Regions from separate parts of the Homo sapiens genome. Here region 1 is linked to region 2. Evidence: promoter capture Hi-C in 16 types of primary human blood cells and fetal thymus (Javierre and others, 2016). All regions are on one chromosome and are shown on one strand. Each heading gives the region's core, a stretch centred on a gene start or on the middle of the fragment in contact. The rest is flanking DNA. Distances are from core to core; before and after follow the strand shown.

Region 1 (5,823 bases), core at 1,481-3,980, 2.1 Mb after region 2:
CGCGGCCCCGGACTGACAAGGCGGCGCGGGCGGGCGGGCGGCGCGGCTCCCGGGGGAGGAGTCTGGCGGTGGTCGGGCCCTGAGGAGCGTGCGGCGGCGCCCGCAGAGGACGCTGCTTTCCGCGCTGGACGGACCAAGCGAGGGAGGGTGCGAGGGGAAACCGGAAGGAAGAGGCGGCGGCGCCAGCCTTCCTCGGCCGGAGGCGGAGGCGAGACCCCAGGCGAGGCCGCGGCGGGAGGGCCACGCCCCCGCCGCCGCGCCGGAGGGGCCCAGTGTGGACGGGGCCACCGGCTGGAGCGGATCCCACACCTCCGGACCGAGGGACGCGGGTGAGCAGGCGACAGTAGCGCCGGGCAGGCTGGGAGCCCGCGGCGACCTGTGGAGGGGCCGGGGAGGAGGGCTGTGGCGGGAGGGGGCTCGGCCCTTTGTGGCTCGGCGGGTGGGAGGCGGCGGCCGCGGCATCTTTCAAACCCGAGACGCTTCCGCCGCGGGCGGGGGAGGGGCGCGGGCGGCCGGCGCCGCCCTCCGCACCCCGCGGCGGCCCCAGGGCGGCGGAGCTCCGGGCAGGTCCGCGGGGAAGGGGCGGCCCGGTACGCCGCTAGCTGGGCGTTTCCGGCCCCGGCACCGGGCGCCTCGGCGCCCGCGGGGCTCCCGGGCGGCGCCTTGGCCTCGGCTCGCGCCCGCCCTTACCGAAGTAAAGCTGTTTCCCTTAAAGACTCGCGACGTGTTCGCGACATGGTGGGCCGAAGGAGGACACCCCCTTCCTTCTGTATTCCCCCCGCGTACATCTGAACTAACCAAGAGAGGTCTAGACGAACAGAGCTCCTGTTATGGTCTATATCGACTTAAAAAAGAAAGCAGAAACTGCCCTTTGAAACGGAAAATTGTGTACGTGTTTACTTTGTGAAATCTTTAACTTCCTTGAATTCGACCACCTCCTTCTCCCTACGGATTGAACAACCGGGGAATAGAAAAATCGCTTAGTTTGGTGTGGGGCGGTTATTTTGAGTTAACATCTTTTTTTCCCTTGGGCTTAGCTATCTAAGAACTCTACCTGCCTCAAAAGGTAGAGGAGCGTCCATCCCACGGGCTACCACGGTGACCCCTTCCAGTGAAAATAGGAAAAGAATTCAAAATACAAAATGAACTTTAAAAGGGTGTGTGTGTGAACTATCTTCTGTGTCAATTAGCCTTATGAAGACGTAGGCAACAGGACTGGTCACGTGTTGTTTATACTTGAATCTGTACGTCGGGCTCACAGCATTTAGGCATTGAGAAACGAAACCCTATCAACGCTGTGCACTGACCAAAATGATATTTTCTTTTATCGAGGCAACTAATTAACAGGGATCTTCCCCCTCTTCCCTCTGAGTTGTACATTTTTGCCGAATTTGAGTAGTATGGGTCTTAGATCTCTTGTAATTGTGAATGACTTAGTTTGGTTAACCTTTGATAAGGACTTTTTTCCCCGACTTTTTTTTCTGATCTAAAGTAAATTGAAAAGCCAGTCGGTTGTTTTCTAATCTCGATGATGTGGAATTTTGCTATTCTTTCCATCTGGCTGATAACTAATGTTAAGCTTACTTCTTCACTTTGATCTTCTGTTGGCTTAGTGCTTATTGAAGCCCTTTTAGGTTGGGGCCTGGAATCCTCAAGAGGTTGTTTTCTGTCAGTAACTCGGGAGTGCTGTGGCCTTTCTGTTGAGCATGCTCTGTAGTCCACACGTTTCCACATAGTGGTGTTTTCTTTGCACAGTTTTGTAGGAAGACTTTATGAGTGCTGTAACTCTACTCCCCTTTTTGCTCTCATAAGAAGCATTATAAAATGTTAACTTATGTTATTCACAGGGCATGTAAGGAGATGGGAAGGAATAGAGGTATCAGTACATATGTCCATGCTCCTCCATAGATTTTCTTCTGGTTGGTAGAAATGTTGAGCTTTTCATTCCTAAACATTGAACATTGAATGTGCAAGGTGAATTCCTAGAAACTTGAATGCAGTCTTAAAAGCCAAATGATAACATTGGTTTTTCCAAAAATGTTACACATTTAGAAAAGAGTCCCCCTTCCCCTCTTCTCTTTGCCCACATTCCTAAGACAAGTAAGGCCAGGAAAAAGGATTGATCCTGGTGTCATAAAATATGAGTGAAAATTTCAAAGTCCTTTGTTAGCTTAATCTTTTCAGTTTTGTAGAGTTTGAATAGACCAACTGATACTTAAATAACTCAGTATTAGAAATGACAGGTTGATCTCAAGTAATTTTTTTTTGAGACAGAGTCTCTTGTCACTCAGGCTGGTGTGCAGTGTCACGATCTCGGCTCACTGCAACCTCCGCCTTCAGGGTTCAAGTGATTCTCCTGCTTCAGCCTCCTGAGTAGCTGGGATTACAGGCGCGCCCCACCAGGCCTGGCTAATTTTTGTATTTTTAGTAGAGATGAGGGTTCACCATGTTGGTCAGGCTGGTCTCGAGCTCCTGACCTCGTGATCCCCTCACCTCGGCCTTCCAAAGTGCTGGGATTACAGGCGTGAGCTACCGCAGACGGCCGATCTCAAGTAATTTTTTTTTTTTTTTTAAGAGACGGAGTCTCGCTGTGTCGCCCAGGCTGGAGTGCGGTGGCGCGATCTTGGCTCACTGCAAGCTCCGCCTCCCGGGTTCACGCCATTCTCCTGCCTCAGCTTCCTGAGTAGCCCACGCTGGGCTAATTTTTGTATTTTTAGTAGAGATGGGGTTTCACCGTGTTAGCCAGGATGGTCTCGATCTCCTGACCTGGTGATCTGCCCGCCTCGGCCTCCCAAAGTGCTGGGATTTACTGGTGTGAGCCATTGCGCCTGGCCACTTTTCCCCAGCTTTCTTAAGTCACTGCGCAGAGGTGAGAGGAAAAAGGAAAAGTGATACCCAAAATAAAAGGACATAGTATACTCATATGATTATTGTATCGCAGGTGGCATTGCCTTTATGTTCTTGTTTAATTTTTTAAAACTGAGATAACTTGTTAATCATAATATAGTACAGCTTGTACTTGTGACCTGAATTTACTTAGGGTGCTGAGCGTAATTAACCTGATGGAGCCATGTCATCTATCAGTATGGTTGGAAAGAGAGAACAGACCTAAGCTCTGAATGTGACTAGAGCAGAGGAAGCTATGCTGAAATTTTTTTTTTTTTTTTTTTGGGACGGAGTCTCGCTGTGTCGCCCAGGCTGGAGTGCAGTGATGCGATCTCGGCTCACTGCAAGTATGCTGAAATTTTTAAAACTTGATAGATTCTTCAAAAGGCCAGGTGTTTGTTTTTTTGGTTTTTTTGTTTTTTTTTGGTTTGTTTTTTAATTGATGCCTGTCACAACTCCAGAAAATTCTGTTTGTGTAGCAGTTGACAATCTAAAAAACAAATGGTCTTTTCCAGACATTCTCAACTGTCGTGGTTGTTTTGATAACTTGAAAGCAAACTGTTTCTAGCACCCATCTCTTGTCCTTCCTAAGGAGAAAACTATCTCATTGAAATAAAGAAAGGCTTGTTTTATGACTGGTGCCTTTCTGGACTCTCATTTAGTTTTTTACACTGACATCAGCCTCCTCAAGATTGGTCGTCTTTTAAGCACTAGTTTGTTTCATTATTTGTACCATCAAAATATGTGAGAAAAGGAAAAAAAAAGGAAAAATTATCTTAATATTTTAGAACACTGAATTCAGATTTCAAGTGTCAAATGTTTGCAAAAAAGTCCCAATATTCTCTGAAAACATTGGATTTCTCTTATGTAAAATACCATTTAGACAGAATGAAAAAAGAGAACTGTATTTGGAGTGCTGAGACCTTGAAATTGGAATCTTCGGACCTGGTGAAGGTGTGGAATCCAGGAGTTGGGAAAGTGCTGCAAAAGCTTCACCAGTGGGTGGGTTAATAAAAATAATTTCGAATATCTGTGTAGTGCTGTGTGTCAGGTACTGAACCAAGTATGAAATGTAATCCTAGAACAATTCATTGAGAAGAGAGTTGTACTTTTAACTACATTTTATAGATGAGCAAACTGAGGCATAGAGAATAAATAACTTAAAAAGGGCCACACAGCTATTAAGTTGCAGAACTGGGGCTTTAACCCAAGTAGTTTGGGTTTGTACTCAATTATTTTTCAACGGTTGACCTCCATGGAGAACGCCTTGGATCTTTTCCAACAAAAATTTTTAATCTTCTCTATTGACATTTGTAGCATTGGGAGATGCAGCACTCCCTAAGTTAGTAATGTACAATTTGAATGTGCTTCCTACAGGTGAATGATTTATAGCCGCACTGCCCCTCCTGGAGGGAGACCTATCATTCCTTCATTCCTACTATATAATTTATTTTATTTTTAGTTGGCAAATAATTGTATGTATTTGTGGGCTACAATGTGATGTTTCAATCTATGTACACATTGAGGAATGATTAAATCAGGCTATTTACATCTGTCACCTCATGTACTTATTTTTTTTGTGGTGAGAACATTTAGAATCTTTAGCAGTTTTGAAATACACAGTATATTATTGTTAACTGCGATCATCAACATGCTGTGTAACAGATCAGTAACACTTATTCCTCCTGTCCAATGGAAACTTTGTACCTACTACTGTGCTTATTGTAGCAGGCCTTGCTAGCAGCCTCCTTCCCATCTTTTTATCCTTTCTTCCTTTTTCATCCACAGCTCAGTTAATTGCTGATTGGTTTCTTTATCACATTCAATAGTTCTTTAATCCTTTATTCGTTCCTCAGTCTCTATATTCTGCCTGGTTAACATTGGAAAAGCTTGCTTTGCTTCTATTTGTGTTTCCAGGCTACTCAGTGGGAGGATGCTACAAAGTACACACCTCTAGGAATGAAAACTTGATTTCAAAGTGAAATTAGACATCTATCCCCCCTCATTGCCTCCCCCCAAAAAGCCAAAACACTGCCATCAACCTCTGACATCTTTAAAAGTATTTGGGATTTTTTAAAAATTTCAACATTTCATACTTTTAATCTTGGTTCCTTATCCTTTAATGTTAATAATCAGAATCTGTAAAACAATTTCATGGTCACTTATCTCTTTATGAGTATTAAAGTAGTATTTACTTTGTAAATTTTCTTTGCTGATAGACTTTCAGGCATGTTTTGCTGCTTATAGTGAGAAGTTAAACACCTTTTTAATACTGTTATTTTATAGGAAAGTTAAGTGAGGAATTCAGACAACCAACTTAAATTTGTTGCATAGAAACACAGTTGTCTCTTGGTTTCAGTGGGAGATTAGTTCCTAGGTCCCCTTGGGATATGAAAATCCAAGGACACTCAGGTCTCTGATAAAATGCCGTAGTATTTTCGATAACCTGTGCATATCCTCCCAATACTTTAAGTCATCTCTAGAAATAATATTTTGTGGGAAGAGTTTCAGATTTTTAAGTAGAATTGTATATGTTACTGTCGATTGCTAACTGATTTAATCCTGACAATCATTTAGTAACAATGTTTCAAAACTTTTATGTGTTGGAATTCACTCAGAACCTCGGAGACTTGGGCATCCTAGAGAAAATGTATTAGAAGCATTTGTTTTCAATCAGTTTATAAATTTTTGACTTCTGTAGGTAGTCTTCGGATTTAAAAATAAATAGGACTTTGTCCTGTAATAATTCGTAGAAAGTCAGTGGGTAGAGGCCGGACGTGGTGGCTCATGCCTGTAATCCTAGCACTTTGGGAGGCCGAGGCAGGCAGATCACCTGAGGTCAAGAGTTTGAGACCAACTTGGCCAACGTGGTGAAACCCCATCTCTACTAAAAATGTGAAAAATTAGCCGGACATGGTGGTGCGTGCCTGTAATCCC
Region 2 (5,389 bases), core at 2,347-4,846:
CAAGTGACCTAGTTCAAGGAAATGACAAATAAATGTCATGGATTTCTCATTCAGCTGTCACTCTATGGGTAGGAGAGCAAGTAGGAGGAAAAGGGGAATATTTAGAAGTTCTAAATGGGGCCTTTAAAATGCCAATGTGGAGACATAAGAAAACTGGTTCCCAACATAGTCTTCCCTTGACCAAATTTACTTTTTTCATTGCCCATCTGACAATGTTTCCCTGATTCCTATACCTTATTATCACTAAGCTTTATTTCTCCACATCTTGTTTTCTTCTATGATTTTATGTTCTTGCTTTTTATTTTATGCTCATTTCCTCCTTATAATCTCCTCTGTCTCCATCCCCAAAGTTTAAAAGATATGTCTTTTTAATTAAACATTTTTATTTCAATGCCCAAAGTGTAACTTGTAGTGAGAAAAAGACTCGGCTTGCACCCCAGGGGCCAGGGCAGCAGCAATTCTTTATAAGTGGTTGCCCTTTCAGGTTCCTGTCCTTAAAAATCTGTCTGCCCTGACCCAGTATTTCTATAGCATCATGCAGGAAGTACCTTTCTGGTGCATCTGGAACTCCCAGAAAAAAAGCACATTAAAGCTGGTAATTTTAATGCTTAATTTCATTATAATCTTAGATCCGTTCATAGATCATCCATGTACAAAATGTTTTTTTAATATGCAGCTTTCAGTTTGCCAGAGATTTTTTGTTTTTTAGCATCCACCGCTATGTGTGGCAGGCACTGGTCTACAGATACATATAGAAATTAACTGCATTCCCATTCTCTGCTCTTGTGGATCTCGTTGTACTAAGGATAAAATGAAATCTGGCACATAATCTTCCATGACTGTTCTGGTTTCCATTCCTCCACCCTTCCTGTGTGAAATGCCTCCCTTTTGGGAGGGGGCACGAGGAGTTGCCTACTATTTTATCCAGGCCTAAGGACCCATGAGATGGGCAACATTTGTAAAGCATCTGTGGAAAGCAGGAAACCATTCAGGCACATCAACTGCCCAGAGAGCTGAGAAGCTTGAAGCCCAGCAGGCCTGGCTTAAAGATCACGTGGCTGTTCTTGCTCTCCCGCTCAGAGTGGCATTCTCCCCTTGCTATACCCCAACTTGGAATGTCAACTTCAGGTTCTGGGAGGACAGAAGTTTGCCACTCTCCTTAAACGTCATCCACTACTTTGAACACTTATTGAGCAACTACCAACATCCAGACAATTTGAACATTCACTGAGCAACTACTTGGATATATGTAATTGTTAGATGCTTTACACACATTGTCTTATTTTTTACAAACCTGTGAACTAGATGTTTTTGTTGCCTCCATTTTAAGAATGAAGAAATCCAGACTCAAAGAGGTATAATACCTTGGTCAAGGCTGGTATGGGTCAATGTAGTGGCTGCAAACTGGATCTAAATTGACCGTGTTTAAGAAAAAAACAAACAAAACAAAAAAACCAAAAAACTAATACCTCACACTGCCCCTCTCCGCATGGTTGCCAAGCCGAGAAGGGGAACTGACAAGCACTTGTGGAACTGCATTCATTCACTCACTCATTCAACAAGTGTTTTCCTGGTACAAACGGTACCAGCTTAAGGGAGGCAGTTCCTGAATTCAGGGCCTATCACATAAAGTAGACACACAGCAATCTAATAATTCAAATGTTGAACCTCTTTTTCCATGCGTCTTTCTAATCATTAAAAAAAATCCATCATTTGTATTATTTTTATTTATTTATTTTTTTGAGATGGAGTCTCGCTCTGTCGCCCAGGCTGGAGTGCAGTGGCGTATCTCAGCTCACTGCAACCTCCGCCTCCCGGGTTCAGGCGATTCTTCTGCCTCAGCCTCCCAAGTAGCTGGGACTACAGGCGCCTGCTACCACGCCTGGCTAATTTTTGTATTTTTATTAGAAACAGAGGTTCACCATCTTGGCCAGGCTGGTCTTGAACTCTTGGCCTCGTGATCTGCCCGCCTCGGCCTCCCAGAGTGTTGGGATTACAGGCGTGAGCCACGGTGCCCGGCCAGTTATTCGTATTATCTTTAATAGGCATTGAATTAGCTTTCTTTTAACTGAATACATTCAACATTAATCCCAGAGGTAGCATTGAGTTCAGCTGACACAATGTTTCAGAATCCAAGCCTTCTGCATCCTACTTTCAACCATTATTTTTTAAACCAGTGTATAAAAATAGTTGTTCTTTGCTCCAATAAAGACATTGGAAAATCCAAATTCATAAACTAGACAGGGTATGAGGGAGTATTAATTAGCATGGCAAACACCCTCCCTTTACAAAATAATCCACTGTCTCTTAAAAAGGCTAACAATGAACGAATGCTGGTATTAGTAAAGAAATCACTGGGCAAAGAAACAAAGAGCGAGAAAGCCACGTGAAGTCCCTGGAATTACAATAGAGATAAGCAGAACGATGGGCCTTGATTTACAACATTGGGACTTAAAGACAACTTTTTGGAACAAGCCACTGGGCACGGCCAGGAAAGGAACCTCCCAGTTGTAATCCATGCTGTTGTAAGACTGTGTGCAAAGAATGCAGGGGTGGAGGGAGAATTGGGATCTACCTGGGTTTCTAAATTTTCCCGGGTTTAATTTACTCGTGCATTCTGCTATGTAAAAGAAAACATATTTTCGACTAAAATCTCCTATCTTATCAACGCCAAGTTTTCCTGCTTCCTATTAAGCAACAAGGTTACAGCAAGTGTAACAAACTGAATGTACTTATTGATGATCTTTCCTGCTCCAGCCAATCCATCCTATCACCTTCAGCCTGGCTCCTACCCTGGTCTTCAGTTTACACTTGTGCCTCGTCCCTTATCAGCTCCCCATGAGATTCCAGGCTGCTATTTTAATACTCTGTTACTATCTTAAATCGGGTCGCACCCGTTCTTCTTGTCGGTGAGTGAGGGGCTGCGCTCCAAGTTGCGCGACCACACTGCGGGGAGTAAACGGAGACGGTGACTTGATTGCCACCCGCGCGCTTCACATCGGTGGGGCCGACCAGGCGCCCAGGGCGCACGCACAGCGCCCCTAAGTGGCCGCTCCGGGCGCCTTCTCCCTGCCCCGCCGCGTCTCGCCTGCGCGGGCTCCAAGCGCAGCCTTAACAGGCTCCGAAACTTGAATCAGCGCCCCGATCCCGAGAGGGCTCTTCCTTCGGCCCCATCACTCCCACAATGGAAGGGCGGCCGCCTCCGGAAGGCCGTCCGCCCCCGCGTCCTCGCACCGGCCGAGCCCCGCGCGGGCGCCGAAGAGGTGTGGGTAGCCGGGCGCCAGAGGGGTCGGGCCCCGCCTGCGCCGGAAGTCCGCGCGTGCGCGCTGGCCGGCCTGGAGCGCGCGTCCGGCGCAGAGGGGCGGCGGGGGCGGGGCCGCGGCCGCTCGCAGGGTGTCCCCGCCCCCGCCCCCCGGCGTTCCGCGGTCGCCGTGACAACCGGAGCGGCGGCAACGGCGGCGGGCTAGCAAGTCCGGCGCCGCCTCCCGGCGGTACTGCCAGCCAGGCAGCAGCCGCCCGGCCTCCACGATCTCCCCGCCTCCCGGCCCGCGGGGAGGGACGAGCCCGCCCTCCACCCTCCGCCCGCCCGCCCGCTGGAGAGTGAGCTGCGCCCAGCCGCCCAGCCAGCCCGCCGTTCTCTGGCCGCCGTCCGGGCGCGCGCAGCGAGCGGGCGCGACTATGCCAAGATGGTCCTGCAGGCGCGGAACAAGCACCGGGAGGCGGCTCCCAAGCCGCCCCAGCCACCCCGCGCCTCACAGTCGCCGCTGAGGGGGGCGTCGGACGTCGGCGCCGGGGAGCCGGGGCCCGAGCGCGCGCCCCTGTCCCCGGGGCGCAAGGGCGCCGCGGGCAGGAAGGGGCCCCGCGCCGAGCCCGGCGCGCCGCCCGCCGGGGGCGGCCTTGGGGGGCGCCTGGCCGCCCGGCTGCGCTGGGCGCTGGGCCTGCGGCGCGCGGGGCGCGGCCGGACCTGGACCACGCTCCTGTTAGGTGAGCAGCCCTAGCGCCGGCGCCGCCGGGACGCGGAACTTTGAGGCGCTGGCCCCCTCCCCTCCCCTCCCCTCCCCTTCCTTCCCCTCTCCTCCCGCTTCCGCCGCGCCGAGCCCCGCCAGCCGGACCAGCCAGTTTGCAGCCCTCTCCGACTTTTTCTCTGGGACATTCTTACCTTCTCCTCCCCGCAACTCCCTGGCTCAGCTCTCCTCGCACGCTTCCCACCCGCGCTCTGCCTGGGCTTTAAAAGAATGGCCCGGGGATCAACAGCTGCCCGGCCTGGCCGCGGGCAGCAGGTCTGCGCTAACGAGACTTGAGCGCTGCTGATTGGTACGACTGGCCGCCTTCCCGTTATCTCGGCCTCTGACCGCCAGGATGGTTTGCTTTGGCTTGGAAACGATTCCGTGGAGCTCAAAGCAAACGCACGTTCCATGTCGTAGAGAGTTGCTTAAACTTATAATTAAATTTTAGCGTACTTTTTTCTTCCTGGCCGCAAACGCCGCTGGTGGCACTTTATTTGTGATTCCCCTCGACACGTCACTTTCTAGGTTGTGTTGTGTTTGGGGCGCCCGAGCCTTAATCCTCCCTGCTGCCCTTGGAACCTTTGGTGAGGAGGGCTCTCCTCCCCTCCCTCTGCCATTTACCAAATGGATGATGTGTAATGATGTGCTGAAAAAAAAAAACAAAGTTGACGCATTCGTATGTTTCGGACTGACTTCAGGTTTCCTCTGTTTCCTGGTTGAATTTTGATAAGGCAAGTTGTAGCAGTTTGGATAACAGGCCTAATTTTTCTAAGTCAACTAGTGAAATGCTGTTACATTGCTTTTTTCTATATGCCTCAGTGGGCTTTTCGCTACTGAACTATTTAATTACTGTTGATTTATCCCTTAGTATATTTTCAGATTCCCTTGGTGACTCAAAGTTCCCTTAGCCAGGAGTTGGGGTCCAGTATAAGTCAAGGAATAGGACACAGCAAATTGGCTTCCCCTGAGATCACAGCCACAAATAAAAGCCACTCAGTCATAAAAAGCCAGTCATCTCTGTATGTTTTAATGGGCTCAAGAAGGTTGTTCCTAGGGTACTTTTTTTCCCCCCATTGCCGATTCAAGCCTAGAAAAACCAAGTTTGTTTTTCTTTGTTTGTTTGTTTGTCTGTTTCCAGCACATTTCCCCCCGCCCCCTTTTTTTTTATCTCAGTAGCAAGCTTGAAAAGCTGGCTAGTATGCAGGTTAGAAAAGCTCACCTTGGGGAGGCAGCACGATACAGTGGATGAGGCAGAGCCTTCAGATCTAGTACACAGCGGTTCAGTTTGGTTTAAGTTTCAGGTTCCTTTGTGAGTCTTTCGTTCTCTGCTAGTGGGGGGTTATCACATGGCGAATTTACTCCACAGGGATCCACAGGATCTG

What was found. The method cuts DNA at HindIII sites, captures the fragments that hold promoters and counts their contacts. A CHiCAGO score of 5 or more calls a contact.
Region 1: a contact is called between a fragment that was not itself captured here and the fragment with the promoter of DPY19L1 in region 2, in 1 of 17 cell types (total B cells). The highest score is 5.9, in total B cells.

What each region holds. Positions count from the first base shown.
Region 1 is chr7:32,886,042-32,891,864 of GRCh38, reverse strand. It overlaps KBTBD2 (kelch repeat and BTB domain containing 2), which reads left to right and starts at 105. Exons shown (of 4, transcript NM_015483.3): 1 at 105-329. RefSeq lists enhancers at 1-24, 2,580-3,105 and a silencer at 1-745. The HindIII fragment of the contact is 2,297 bases long and covers 1,582-3,878 here.
Region 2 is chr7:35,035,692-35,041,080 of GRCh38, reverse strand. It overlaps DPY19L1 (dpy-19 like C-mannosyltransferase 1), which reads left to right and starts at 3,596. Exons shown (of 22, transcript NM_001366673.1): 1 at 3,596-3,984. The coding sequence starts at 3,687. It overlaps LOC105375228 (a long non-coding RNA gene), which reads right to left and starts at 4,295. Exons shown (of 3, transcript XR_001745162.3): 1 at 4,160-4,295. RefSeq lists an enhancer at 2,757-2,986 and silencers at 3,037-3,706, 3,737-3,906. The HindIII fragment of the contact is 4,166 bases long and covers 1,024-5,189 here.